2 separate regions of the Homo sapiens genome follow, and region 2 is linked to region 1. The links are contacts of gene promoters, found by promoter capture Hi-C in blood cells and fetal thymus (Javierre and others, 2016). All regions are on one chromosome and are shown on one strand. The core of a region is centred on a gene start or on the middle of the fragment in contact, and the rest is flanking DNA. Distances in the headings are between cores, read along the strand shown. Region 1 holds the start of KLHDC1 (kelch domain containing 1). Region 2 overlaps DMAC2L (distal membrane arm assembly component 2 like).

Region 1 (6,605 bases), core at 2,704-5,203:
GATGCTGGCAGATCACTTGAGGCCAAGAGTTCGAGAACAGCCGGGCCAACATGGTGAAACCCCGTCTCTACCAAAAAAAAAAAAAAAAAAAAAAAATTAGCCAGGCGTGGTGGCGCGCGCCTGTAATCCCAGCTCCTGGGGAGGTTGAGGCAGGAGAATCTCTTGAGCCTCGGAGGCGGAGGGTGCAGTGAGCCGAGATCGTGCCACCACTCCAGCCTGGGCAACAAAGCAAGGCTCTGTCTCAAAAACAAAAAAAGCCGGGCGCAGTGGTTCACGCCTGTAATCCCAGCACTTTGGGAGGCCGAGGTGGGCGGATCATCTGAGGTCAGGAGTTCGAGACCAGCCTGACCAACATGGAGAAACCCCGTCTCTACAAAAATACAAAAAAATTAGCCAGGCATGGTGGCGCATGCCTGTAATCCCAGCTACTCGGGAGGCTGAGGCAGGAGAATTGTCTGAACCCGGGAGACAGAGGTTGCGGTGAGCCGAGATGGGGCCATTACACTCCAGCCTAGGCAACAAGAGTGAGACTCTGTCTCAAAACAACAGCAACAACAACAACAAAACAACTCTGGAAGGTTAAATCAGAGACCACAAAAATGGTTAACTACAAAGGGGTGAGGGGATAGGGATGAAAGTGAAAACTTTCTTTACAGTGAGACTTTTAATCCATGTGCATGTTTTACATATTCAAAAAATAGAAAATAAAAAGGTGAGCTTAAAATTGAATGCATACTAAAACTAATACACCTAATTGTATATTAAATTGGTAACATAACATCACAAGTGATTTTTGAACACAGTTCTCTTTATTTAGTGAAATATTTTTCAAAGACAAAAAGTACAAAGAAATTTTTAATTTTTATGTAAGAAAGGATAGGAAATACGAATAGAAAGACATATAGTTAATTCTCATTACTGTACCTGTGATAGTTAGATTTTATAAGTAGCCACCAACAAATAATTATTGAATACTAAACCATTCCTACTAGGGGAAGTACAGAATTAGGTTCCTGTGAGCCTCTGGTGACAATGTTTTCATCAACTGATCAACATATAACCTTGTTTTGTTTTTTTTTTTTTTTTTTTTTTGAGACGGAGTTTCGCTCTGTCGCCCAGGCTGGAGTGCAGTGGCGCGATCTCGACTCACTGCAAGCTCCGCCTCCCGGGTTCACGCCATTCTCCTGCCTCAGCCTCCCGTGTAGCTGGGACTACAGGCGCGCGCCACCATGCCCGGCTAATTTTTGTATTTTTAGTAGAGACGGGGTTTCACCGTGTTAGCCAGGATGGTCTCGATCTCCTGACCTCGTGATCCCCCCGTCTCGGCCTCCCAAAGTGCTGGGATTACAGGCGTGAGCCACCGCGCCCGGCCTATAACCTTGTTTTATGTGTGTTTTTATGTAAAGACATCTTTACATTGTGATTCGTTAACACTGAACTCAGGGCCAAGAGCCCTATAACTCATAGCTGAAGGAAGCTTATTTATCACATGTATTTTCTCCATAAGGCACTCCCACTCTCAAATAATTCAACAAAATGAAAAAGACAGACACACACATACCAACAAACATAAAGCTAGTATGGTAGTATTAATAATTATTAACCTGGAGTGGAAGATACACAGGTACTCTTTGAACTATTTTTTCAACTTTTTTTGGTTTGCTACTTTTTATATTAAGAAATTGGAGAGAAAATAATCAATTCCAGTTGCCCAGCTTTCTCTCACAATCTGACCTCACAATTCCCCTTTTCCCATAAATGTTCCCAATCATAATTCTCTTTCTCTAATAAATTTTCAACTTCTTCTATGGCTCCTTCACCTGGCCAGCTCATAAAGTCCCAATACTTAAATGAACAATTATATGCTGATGACTCCAAAATCCCTATCTCTAGCCCTTAGCTCTCTTAGACTTCAAATCCAACTCAATATGCCTCCAAATGAACTCACCATTAGCCCTGCCCTCCCCCAAACCTGTTCCTCCTCCCATGTTCAATAACCTAGCGAAGGGCTCCACCCACCTCCCACCCAGTGACCAAGCTGGTAAACTAGGCATATCCTTGACTCTTCCCTCTCACGAATGAAAGTTCCTTGAACAACTTCCGTTCATCATTCAGTTCTTAACTTAGACTTTACTTTCTCTCAGGAACCTTCCCTGTCTTCCCTCAATCTGAGTTAAAGGGCCTCTGTACACCCAAGGTGCCCTGGACTTTTGCTATTTTCACACTTACTGCACGGTATGGTAATTGTCTGTTTGCTGGTCTATAGACTCCACCAGACTCTACAGTCCAGGAGGACAAATGCTCCATTTCAAAAATACAATACCAATATTACTAGTAACAATAAAGTGATGGAGTGAGAATTATGATTGACATATAGTTTACACTAAGTAAAATGCACATATCTGTATGCAGTTCAATGCATTTTGATAAATGTATACACCCATGTAACCACCACCTCAATCAAGATACAGAACATTTTAATCACTCCAGAACACTTCCTGTACTCCTTTCCATCAGTCCCCTCCCCCTCCCTACTCCCAAATGACCACTTTTCTGCTTTCTATTATCATAGATCACTTTTGTCTATCTTGAATTTCTTCCTTCCTTCCTCCCTTCCTCCCTCCCTCCCTTCTTCCTTCCCTCCCTTCCTCCTTTTTCTTTCTTTCTCTCTCCCTTTCCCTCTCTCTCTCTTTCTCTCTTTCTTTCTAAGGAACCTTGCTCTGTCGCCCAGACCGGAGTGCAGTGGCGCGATCTCGGTTCACTGCAACCTCCACCTCCCGGGTTAAAGCGATTCTCTTGCCTTTGTAGCTGGGATTACAGGCATGCGCCACCACGCCCGGCTAATTTTTGTATTTTTAGTAGAGACGGGATTGCCCAGGTTGGCCAGGCTGGTCTCAAACTCCTGAGCTCAAGTGATCCGCCTACCTCATCCTCCCAAAGTGCTTAGATGAGAGGCGTGAGCCACTGCAATCCAGTTACATTTGTAAAGTTAAATATGCATTTATCCTCTGACCCAGCAATTCCACATCTAGAACTCTACTCCAAAGATAGGCTTGTACAAATACAAAATAACATATGCATAACGTTTCATCGCAGCATTATTTATGATAGCCAAAAAAACCTGGAAATAACCGATATGTCCATCAATAAGAATCTGTTTGAATAAGCTATGACACATCCAATCGGTGGAGTGCTATGAAGCTATGAAAAGGACTGAGGAGACTGCTTGCTGTATCCTGATATGGATCGTCAAGTGAAAAGAGAAAGTTAAGGAACACTGTATATACTTCCTTTTGTGTAAGAAAAGGAGCAGATACTCTGTTTATTTGTATAGTCAAAAATAAACAATAGAAAGTATCATTAAAGTGCACCAGACTTAAGTGCCTTCTAATGTGATGCAATATGAAGTATTTTCCAAAAAAAAATCTGAACTAGAATCTAATAAAGCTTTTAGATACAGCTTCCAGCCTAAAAGAAGTATGGGGAAAGGATGCACAAGTTAATGAGAAAAGACACTGAGGAACCAAACCCAGAAGGTGGTACGGCTGTAGGAAAATAAGAAAACTAATCCATATAACAAACAAATGGCACAAGAGAGAAGGGAGAGAAGCTATTCTAGAGTAAAACAGACGTAAAGTCTTAAGAGGCGTTAACAACGAATTACGGTGCTGAACAAACCAACTATAGAAAAGACATTTTGAGATAATCAAGGAATCTGACTACAGACTGACTACTAAATGAGGCTGTACTGCCAAAACACAATTCCAAGAGAGAAGGAATCTGCGCGTGGAAAGCCCAGGCCCCTTGCCCACTGCGAGGAGCCAGAACGTCCCTCCACAGCCGCGCCGCCCCTGGCTCGACTTCCCGAGCGAGAGCCGCGGGACGTTGCAGACGCACTGGCTCCGCCTTCCCACCAATCTCGACCCTCGCCGCGTTCCGTTCGTGCGTGGAGCAGTCGGGGCTGGAGGCGAGGCCGCCGGGCGGGCAGGGGTTGTGGCGCGGCAAGCGGCGGGCCAGCGACGGCGCGAATGGCGGACTCTCAGCTGTTCTGTGTGGCGGAGGAACGCAGCGGCCACTGCGCCGTGGTGGACGGAAACTTCCTCTACGTGTGGGGGGGCTACGTGGTAAGGGGAAGAGGCGGGACGGGGTAGACTCGCGCCGGGAGACCCTCGGCCTGAGCGGACGCAGCGCCCGCCACACCCGCTCCCGAGGCTGCGGCCCAGGCCTGGCGCGCCCGGCGCCTGCAGCCCCCCAGCCCCTCCGCTGGCCGCCGCCCCCACAGCCGCGCCAGGGCTTGACGTCGTCCCGCCGTTGCTTCTTCTATTAAAGCCTCAGACCCGGCTCCGGGCCTCTTACCACTCTCCGCCCCTCTTTGCCAGCAATTCAGTAACCACGGTTTGCCCAATGCAAAGGCAGTTACAGCGCGATTAATTATTATCCTTAAATACTGGCGCAGACCTAGAAGGACCCGAGGACGCCGTGCTGTATCATTTTGTATATATTTCCTTATTCCCACGGCGCGATTCGAAATAAAATATCGAAATCACTGAAGCATTTAAATATTTATTTTCTTTTCTTTTTCTTTTTTTTTTTTTTTTGAGATGGAGTTTCGCTCTTGTTGCCCAGGGCTGGAGTGCAATGGAACGATCTCAGCTCACCGCAACCTCCGCCCCCCGCCCCGGGTTCAAGCGATTCTCCTGCCTCAGCCTCCCTAGTAGCTGGGCTTACCGGCATGTGCCATCATGCCTGGCTAATTTTGTATTTTTAATAGAGACAGGGTTTCCCATGTTGGTCAGGCTGGTCTTGAACTCGCGACCTCAGGTGATCCGCCCGCCTTGGCTTCCCAAAATGCTGGGATTACAGGCATTAGCCACTGTGCCTGGCTTGCATTTTAAATATTTCTAAGCTATTTTTAGTGGCGTTTCTTTACTAATGACTATTTTTTCTAGTCTCAAAATAGACGCATGTTAGCAATAATATGCTAAGAAATATTATGCTTTAAAATTCTTACTACAATGGAGGTTTGAGCGTATGTGTGTGTTGTGTGTCCATAATCACAGAATTATAGAAGCAAGAATGGTAAAGCTGGAAAACAGGAATACTATATGCCAACCCTCTTAGTTTACAGATTTTTTTTCTTAAGCCATCTGGAAGTTCTACTGATAGTAGAACCTACATCTTCTGTCTCCCTACCATTATGTGACAGACCTGTAACGTGACTGAATCATATTGAAATGACCAACATACAGGCATACCTCGAAGTATTGCAGAATACTTCGTATGACTGCAATAAAGCGAGGTCATACGAATTTTTTTGGTATCTCAGTGCATATAAAAGTCATGTTTACATTGTAGTGTGTTAAGCATGCAATAGTATTATGTGTAAAAAAAAAATGTACATACCTGGCTGGGCGCGGTGGCTCACACCCGTAATCCCAGCACTTTGGGAGGCTGAGGCGGGTGGATTACCTGAAGTCAGGAGTCCGAGACCAGCCTGGCCAACATGGTGAAACCCCGTCTCTACTAAAAACACAAAAATTAGCCGGACATGGTGGCGGATGCTTGTAATCCCAGCTACTCGGGAGGCTGAGGCAGGAGAATCACTTGGACCCGGGAGGCGGAGGTTGCAGTAAGCCAAGATTGCGCCATTGCATTCCAGCCTGGGCGACAGAGCGAGACTCCGTCTCAAAACAAAAAAACAAAAAACTGTACATACCTAATTTCAAAATTATTGCTAAAAAATGCTAAGGATTATCTGAGCCTTCAGCGAGTTGTATTCTTTTTGCTCATGGAGGGTCTTCCTCTATGTAGTTGGCTACTGACTGATTAGGGTGGTTGTTGCTGAAGGTTGGAGTGGCTGTGGCAGTTTCTTAAGACAAGACAATGAAGTTTGCCACATTGAGCCTTCCTTTCACAAAATATTTCTCTGTAACATGCAATGCAGTTTTGATGTGTGTGTGTGTGTGTGTGTGTGTGTGTGTGTTTTGAGACAATCTCTCCTGCAACCTCTGCCTCCCAGGTTCAAGCGATTCTCCTGCCTCAGCCTCCTGAGTAGCTGGAATTACAGGTGTGCACCACCATGCCTGGCTAATTTTTGTATTTTTTACAGGCGTGAGCCACCGTGCCCAGCCATGAAATGTATTTTCTTAAATAATAAGACTTGAAAGTCAAAATGATTCCTTGATCCATGGGCAACAGAATGGATATTGTGTAGCAGGCATGAAAAGATAAATCTTGTAGATCTCCCATCAGAGCTCTTGGGTGACTAGGTGTGTTGTCAATGAGCAGTGAGTGAGATTTTCTGAGCAGCAGTTCTCAACAATAAACTACTCAGTAAGCCATGCTGTCAAAGAGACATGCTGTCATCCAGGCTTTCTTGTTCCGTTGTTAGAGCACAGGCAGTGTAGATTTAGCATAATTCTTAAGGGCCCTAGGATTTTCAGAATGATAAATGAACATTGGCTTCAACTTAAAGACAGCTACTACATTAGCCACTAACAAGAGAATTAGCTGGTCCTTTGAAATTGGACATTGACTTCTCTCTAGCTATGAAAGTCCTAGATGGCATCCTCTTCCAATATAAAGCTGTTTCATCCACGTTAAAA
Region 2 (6,605 bases), core at 2,581-5,080, 630 kb after region 1:
GACCACAGATTCAGAATTATTTTCTCTTTAATCTTTTGTTATTAATACAAATTCTAACCAAGTATAGTCATTCGTAGAATAGTTACTAAGTATCTCTGGTGTCAAGCACTGTACTATATGTGAATCAATGAAACGTTGTGTCTGATAAATTCATATAAAAATAATACGCCTTGACAGCGTTCACGTGGAAACAAAAACAAAACTAAAAAAGTCAGCAGATAGACTGCAGGTTTTTTTGTTTTTGTTTTTGTTTTTTTTGCATGGATCTCACTAATTTATCTTCCTCGTCAGTCACTTGAAATGAAAATTTGTTGCGTTCTGTATTATTTATGTCAGTTAATATAGTTAACAAGCTAGTGATTATTGTAAAAGCAAACTGCTTTTTTTCTCTTGCCAACAGGGTGGATTATGATCGCATCAGGGATGTTGGCCCTGACAGGGCGGCATCCGAGTGGTTGCTGCGCTGTGGGGCCATGGTGCGCTACCATGGCCAGGAGAGGTGGCAGAAGGACTACAACCACCTTCCAACAGGCCCTCTGGACAAATACAAGATTCAGGCGATCGACGCCACCGACTCTTGTATCATGAGCATTGGATTTGATCACATGGGTAACTACCCTATCGTTTTGCTAATAGAAAATGCAGATGATTTGCAGTGACCATTTTGTTGCAGTTGACTCACGATTATAGTCATAGGTATGTCCTTTTTGCCCATTTCATTATAGTCAAGTTTGTTTCTTCCTGTGTTTGATATTTATTTTCAAATTAAATTGAGGTTACAGACACCTTCCTCTCCTTCCTCCTCTCACTAAGCTTGTTTCTGTATGTCTCTAGTCTTTGGTTTATTGACTTAAAATCCAGGGCCTTGTTTGTCAAACTATCTTTGTCAAACTTCTGTCATTGAGAAGCCCTCAATAATGCAGGAATAATTATATCCACACAGCTTCTGCTTACGTGGGCATTTTTTTTTCTTTCTTTCTTTTTTTTTTTTTTGAGACAGAGTCTTGCTCTGTCGCCTAGGCTGGAGTGCAGTGGCGCGATCTCAGCTCACTGCAAGCTCTGCCTCCCAGGTTCACGCCATTCTCCTGCCTCAGCCTCCTGAGTAGCTGGGACTATAGGCGCCCGCCACCATGCCCGGCTAATTTTGTTTTTGTATTTTTAGTAGAGATGGGGTTTCACCGTGTTAGCCAGGATGGTCTCGATCTCCTGACCTCATGATCCGCCTGCCTCGGCCTCCCAAAGTGCTGGGATTACAGGTGTGAGCCACTGCACCCGGCCTCTTTTTTTTTTTTTTTTTTTTTGAGACAGAGTCTCACTCTGTCACCAAGGCTAGAGTGCAGTGGCGTGATCTTGGCTCACTGCAACCTCTACCTCCTGGGTTCAAGTGATTCTCCTGCCTCAGCCTCCCAAGTAGCTGGGACTACAGGTGTGCACTACCACGCCAGGGTAATTTTTCTATTTTTAGTAGAGACAAGGTTTTGCCGTGTTGACCAGGCTGGTCTTGAATTCCCGACCTCAGGTGATCCACCCGCCTCAGCCTCCCAAAGTGCTGGGATTACAGGTGTGAGCCACTGGGCCTGGCCCTATGTGGGCATTTCTTTCCTCCAGTGTGTGGGCATCTGACTGCGGAATGGTCCTGTCCATCAGCACAAGCTCTATAGTGAATTCCTTATATGGTTAATAGGGTGAGCAGTCATTCCAGTTTTCATGGAACTAAGAGGTTTCCCAGGACATAGGACTTTCAGTCCTAAAACCAAGTCAGTCGTGGGCAAACCAGGACAGTTTGTCATCTTAGTGGTAAAGCAGATTCTTAATCTGTACTTTTTCTCCCCAGAGGGCCTAGAGCATGTTGAAAAAATAAGGCTGTGCAAGTGTCATTATATCGAGGATGACTGTTTGCTGAGACTTAGTCAACTTGAAAATTTACAAAAAACCATATTGGAAATGGAAATAATATCCTGTGGGAATATCACAGACAAAGGCATCATTGCTTTGCGTCATTTAAGGTAGATGATCAAAGCCAAAGTGGAAACTTGATAATGCTGTTAAGGTGAATAGTTAGAATTTAATTGACTGTGAGGGGTGGTGTCTTTTTTTAGTTCTAAAAAAGATAATTTTAAAAAATGACCTCACTTTCATCTGTAATATTTTAAAACAGCTAAAATGATCAACCTTAATACATTAATGTTGTATTGAATTTTTTATAGAGTATATTTTAAAAAATTAAATCTACATTAAGCACCTAGCATGGTGCCTGCCACAGTAAGCCCTCAGTAAGCATCAACGATTATGCTTTCTCTCCTTTTTTTTTAAAGCAGTTTCTCCTATGGTTTTAATATTTTCAAGACATTTGGTATATACCTATTAGCATTTTACTGTGTAATTATTTTGCTTGAGGGGAGAAAAACCTTGAAATATTCACCTTTCTGTCTCTAGAGCCTAGAACACTGCCTGACACTGTAATAATCATCAAAAGCATGCATCCACTGGTTAGGAAAGCTGTTCTACATCCTCTTGTGCCACCAACCAGACCCACGCCATGGCCTGGAGCAAGTCACCTAATCCCAAATGCAAAAACAGATAATACTAGCAAGGAATGTTTAATTCTAAAATTTGTAAGATTCTGAGTCTCATCGGCGTGATGAAAAAAGAATAGAAGTTTTTTTGTTTGTTTGTTTTTTTGAGACGGAGTCTTGCTTTTGTTGCCCAGGTTGGAGTGCAGTGGCATGATCTTGGCTCACTACAACTTCCGCTTCCTGGGTTCAAGCGATTCTCCTGCCTCAGCCTCCTGAGTAGCTGGGATTAAAGGCGTGCACCACCACGCCCGGCTAATGTTTGTATTTTCAGTAGAGATGGGGTTTCGCCATGTTGGCCAAGCTGGTCTCGAACTCCTGAACTCATGATCCGCCCGCCTCGGCCTCCCAAAGTGCTGGGATTACAGGCGTGAGCCACCGTGCCCGGCCTAGAAGTTTGTTTAATCAAATCCCTGTGTTAGAGATCTCAACATTCAAATTATGTATCTAATTAATGTAGTTCTGCTTTAATATATAATGGATCTGCCAGTAACCTCAGTATCACAGGAAGTTTAAGAAATTTTAAACATTAGGACCAAAAGTACTAGATTGTTCATCTCTTACATTACTTGAAGCTTCAAAGCTTCATCTTTTAGTAGAAACTCTAGTATCTAAGAATTTTCCCAGCTTTTGCCCTTTTGGGGTTGAGATTCACATTTCATGTTTCACATGCAAAGAATATCTACATCATTATAAATATATATTTTATTTAGAATGATTCAGCTAGAAATATTGATGTAACCCAAAGTCTGTGTTACTTCCTGGCATGAATTTCATCTCTAAGGCTACTGCTCTAAAAGTAATTTTGAAGGCATAGGGTGATATAGATTCATTTTCTACATAATTTTCTTTCTTTAAGTCAGTAAATTGAATTTATTTTTAATGCTCTTGGCCAAATTGAAGTGACTTTTTTCTTTATTTGCAGAAACCTCAAATATTTGTTGTTAAGTGATCTTCCTGGAGTAAGAGAAAAAGAAAATCTTGTCCAAGCCTTTAAGACAGCACTGCCTTCTCTGGAACTAAAATTACAATTGAAGTAAAATAATGTGTCTTATTTCAGTATAAAGGATCATTTGAAACTGTTGATTCCAAACATCAACTAATATTATATAGTCATCAGTAGAATTATAAGGATGCCATATCATGACATTTTAGAAGTGGAGAGTGCATCATATGTAGAAAATAAATATTCAGACGTGGCTCATTAATGTTACTAAGTTGGAAGTGAGAATTTATGAACATTAATTCATTTTAAGAAAAGTGCAGCCAGGCGCAGTGGCTCATGCCTGTAATCCTAGCACTTTGGGAGGCCAAAGCGGGCAGATCACCTGAGGTCAGGAGTTCAAGACCAACCATGGCCAACATGGTGAAACCCCATCTCTACTAAAAAAACAAAATTAGCTGAATGTGGTGGTGCACGCCTTTAATCCCAGCTACTCTGGAGGCTGAGGCAGGAGAATCACTTGACTTGGGAGGTGGAGGTTGCAGGGACCCGAGATTGTGCCACTGCACTCCAGCCTGGGTGACAGAGCGAGACTGTCTCAAAAAAAAAAAAAAAAGAAAAATGTAAACTAGGTAACATTTTAATTCTAATATATTCATTTAATATGTAAATCTATAGATATCTCTTGATGTAGATATTTAGAATCCTTTAAAGTTATTTGTACAACAGATGTTTTTATTATAACAGTAATTTACATTTAACTTTAAAGTTAGTGAAGCATACTACCATAAATGCACAATTATGAAAAATTAGAAGCTAAATTACAGATTCATTGATGGAGTCAATTATGCAAAGTGGTCAGTGGTTGTTGAAGCATGCATTGCTTCAACAGGATTTGCGTGCATTTCCCATGATCCTGCATTCTTGTGTTCTTGATAGCATACAGACTTACTCAGAATCAACAGTTGCTGCTTAATTTGTCTATTTTGTAAGCTTAGGCTACTATTTTATTAAAACTGGACATAGATACTTGGCTGAATACAAATAGTTTTGCAGATTGCAATATAATAAAGGAAACAGTAAAAACTAGTGGGCTATGCTTAGGTTTTTCTTGAAACCTAACATTGCTTTAGGCTGGGTGCCGTGGCTCGTGCCTGTAATCCCAGTGCTTTGGGAGGCTGAGGTGGGAGGATCACTTGAGACCAGGAGTTTGAGACCAATTTGGGCAACACAGTGAGACCCCATCTCTAAAAAAATTTTAAAAATTAGGCAGGCATGGTGGTGCATACCTGTAATCTCAGATACTTGGGAGGTTGAGGTGGTAGGATTGCTTGAGCTCAGGAGTTTGAGGCTGCAGTAAGCTATGATCACGGCCACTGCACACCAGCCTGGTAGCCTGGGTGAAAGGGGGAGACCCTGTCTCTTAAAAAAAAGGGCTGGCCTGTAATCCCAGCACTTTTGAAGGCCAAGGCAGGCAGATCATTTGAGCCCAGGAGTTCAGGACGAGCCTGGGCAACATGGCAAAACCCTGTCTCTACCAAAAAATTAAAAAATAAAAAATAGCTGGGTGTAGTGGCACATGCCTGTAGTCCCAACTACTCAGGAGTCTGAGGTAGGAGGATCAGTTGAGCCCGGGAAGTCGAGGCTGCAGTGAGCCATGTTGGCACCACTGCACTCCAGCCTGGGCAACAGATTAAGACCCTGTCTCAAAAAAAAAAAAAAAAGTGAAAAATAGATAAAACAGGTCTTCATTGTTACCTGTGAGAAATGGCCCTGATTCTATTACTCTTATATGCCAGTTTGTTTATAGATTTCTGTGTGTTTGATTTGAACTTTTTTTTTTTTTTTTTTTTTTTTGAGACAGACTCTCACTCTGTTGCCCAGGTTGGAGTGCAGTGGTGTGATCTCAGTTCACTGCAACCTCTGCCTCCCGGGTTCAAGCAGTTCTCTGTCGCAGCGTCCCAGGTAGCTGGGATTACAGGCGCCCACCACCACGCCCAGCTAATTTTTGTACTTTTAGTAGAGACAGGGTTTCACCATCTTGGCCAGACTGGTCTTGAACTCCTAACCTCAGGATCCACCCGCCTCGGCCTCCCAAAGTGCTGGGAGCCACCGCGCCCAGCCTGGTTTGAACATTATTAAGCTGTTGAATATAAACTTGAAAATAATTTTCTATGATACAGCTTTCAGGTAGAAAAATGAATTTTCGTTGTGTTTAACAATGTTGTGTTTAACAGCTTATACAAATAACACAGTATAAATGGTAATTGCCACTGTCATTTTAAAAATCAGAAAATAGTAAATAAAAGGATGTGGAAGAGTCTCATGTGATACAGTGGAGATTTCATACCGAATAAAAGCATTATAAATATGGTTAAATTGAACATAAGCATAAATTTAACGGAACTCATTAGAAAAAAATAAGCCTTTTTTCTCAGGTTTGTTTCATTACTGTATGGTGAGACAACTGATTCACCACGATTTAGTCTAGAGCTACTTTTCTATTCTGAATAGTTTTTGGTAAAACTATTGGCTGAATTATTAGGCTGTTATAGTAATCTGCCTCCGTCAAGTGTATTTTCTTGGGTTAAGGAAAAAAAAATTTTTTTTTAACTATTCACGGAAGCTGGATGTTCTTCCTTGTCATTTGAATCAAGGCCGTCTAACAGGAATTGAATAATTCAGGGACTAGCATTTAACCCATATCAGGTCTAGGCAAGAAAAGACATACATTAGGAAGCCTTAGGATATCATTAAACTGCCTAGGGTAGTCAAAATTATTGAGTAGACACCAGACCTCAGTGGATTACTTAAGTAAATGGGGTCAGATGTCATCATGAAGAAAATTAACAGGAAGAAAATGAGAGTACAGAAGAAATGTTTTGAAAATAGAGTGAAATACAACTTTGAAGACCATGGCTGAGAAGTGCTAGGAATAGTGGCAGCACATCAACCAGAAATGGTGTTGAGCTGTAAGAAACAGACGTCAGGCTTCATATTGCCCTTGTGTCCAGGGGACAAGGATGAAAAAGCTTTTTGATTAAGAGCAGTAGACCAAATCAAAGCTAATTATGTCATTTTGGCCAGGC

The links. The method cuts DNA at HindIII sites, captures the fragments that hold promoters and counts their contacts. A CHiCAGO score of 5 or more calls a contact.
Region 2: a contact is called between a fragment that was not itself captured here and the fragment with the promoter of KLHDC1 in region 1, in 1 of 17 cell types (monocytes). The highest score is 5.6, in monocytes.

The regions. Positions count from the first base shown.
Region 1 is chr14:49,689,167-49,695,771 of GRCh38, forward strand. KLHDC1 (kelch domain containing 1) reads left to right here and starts at 3,954. Exons shown (of 13, transcript NM_172193.3): 1 at 3,954-4,124. The coding sequence starts at 4,029. RefSeq lists silencers at 4,099-4,148, 4,159-4,328. The HindIII fragment of the contact is 4,227 bases long and covers 3,446-6,605 here.
Region 2 is chr14:50,322,111-50,328,715 of GRCh38, forward strand. DMAC2L (distal membrane arm assembly component 2 like) reads left to right here. Exons shown (of 6, transcript NM_001382507.1): 4 at 401-609; 5 at 1,835-2,006; 6 at 3,499-5,847. The coding sequence ends at 3,613. CDKL1 (cyclin dependent kinase like 1) reads right to left here. Exons shown (of 10, transcript NM_004196.7): 10 at 4,155-6,605. Among named protein-coding and RNA genes, the nearest start is that of DMAC2L, 13 kb to the left of the region's middle. The HindIII fragment of the contact is 1,353 bases long and covers 3,155-4,507 here.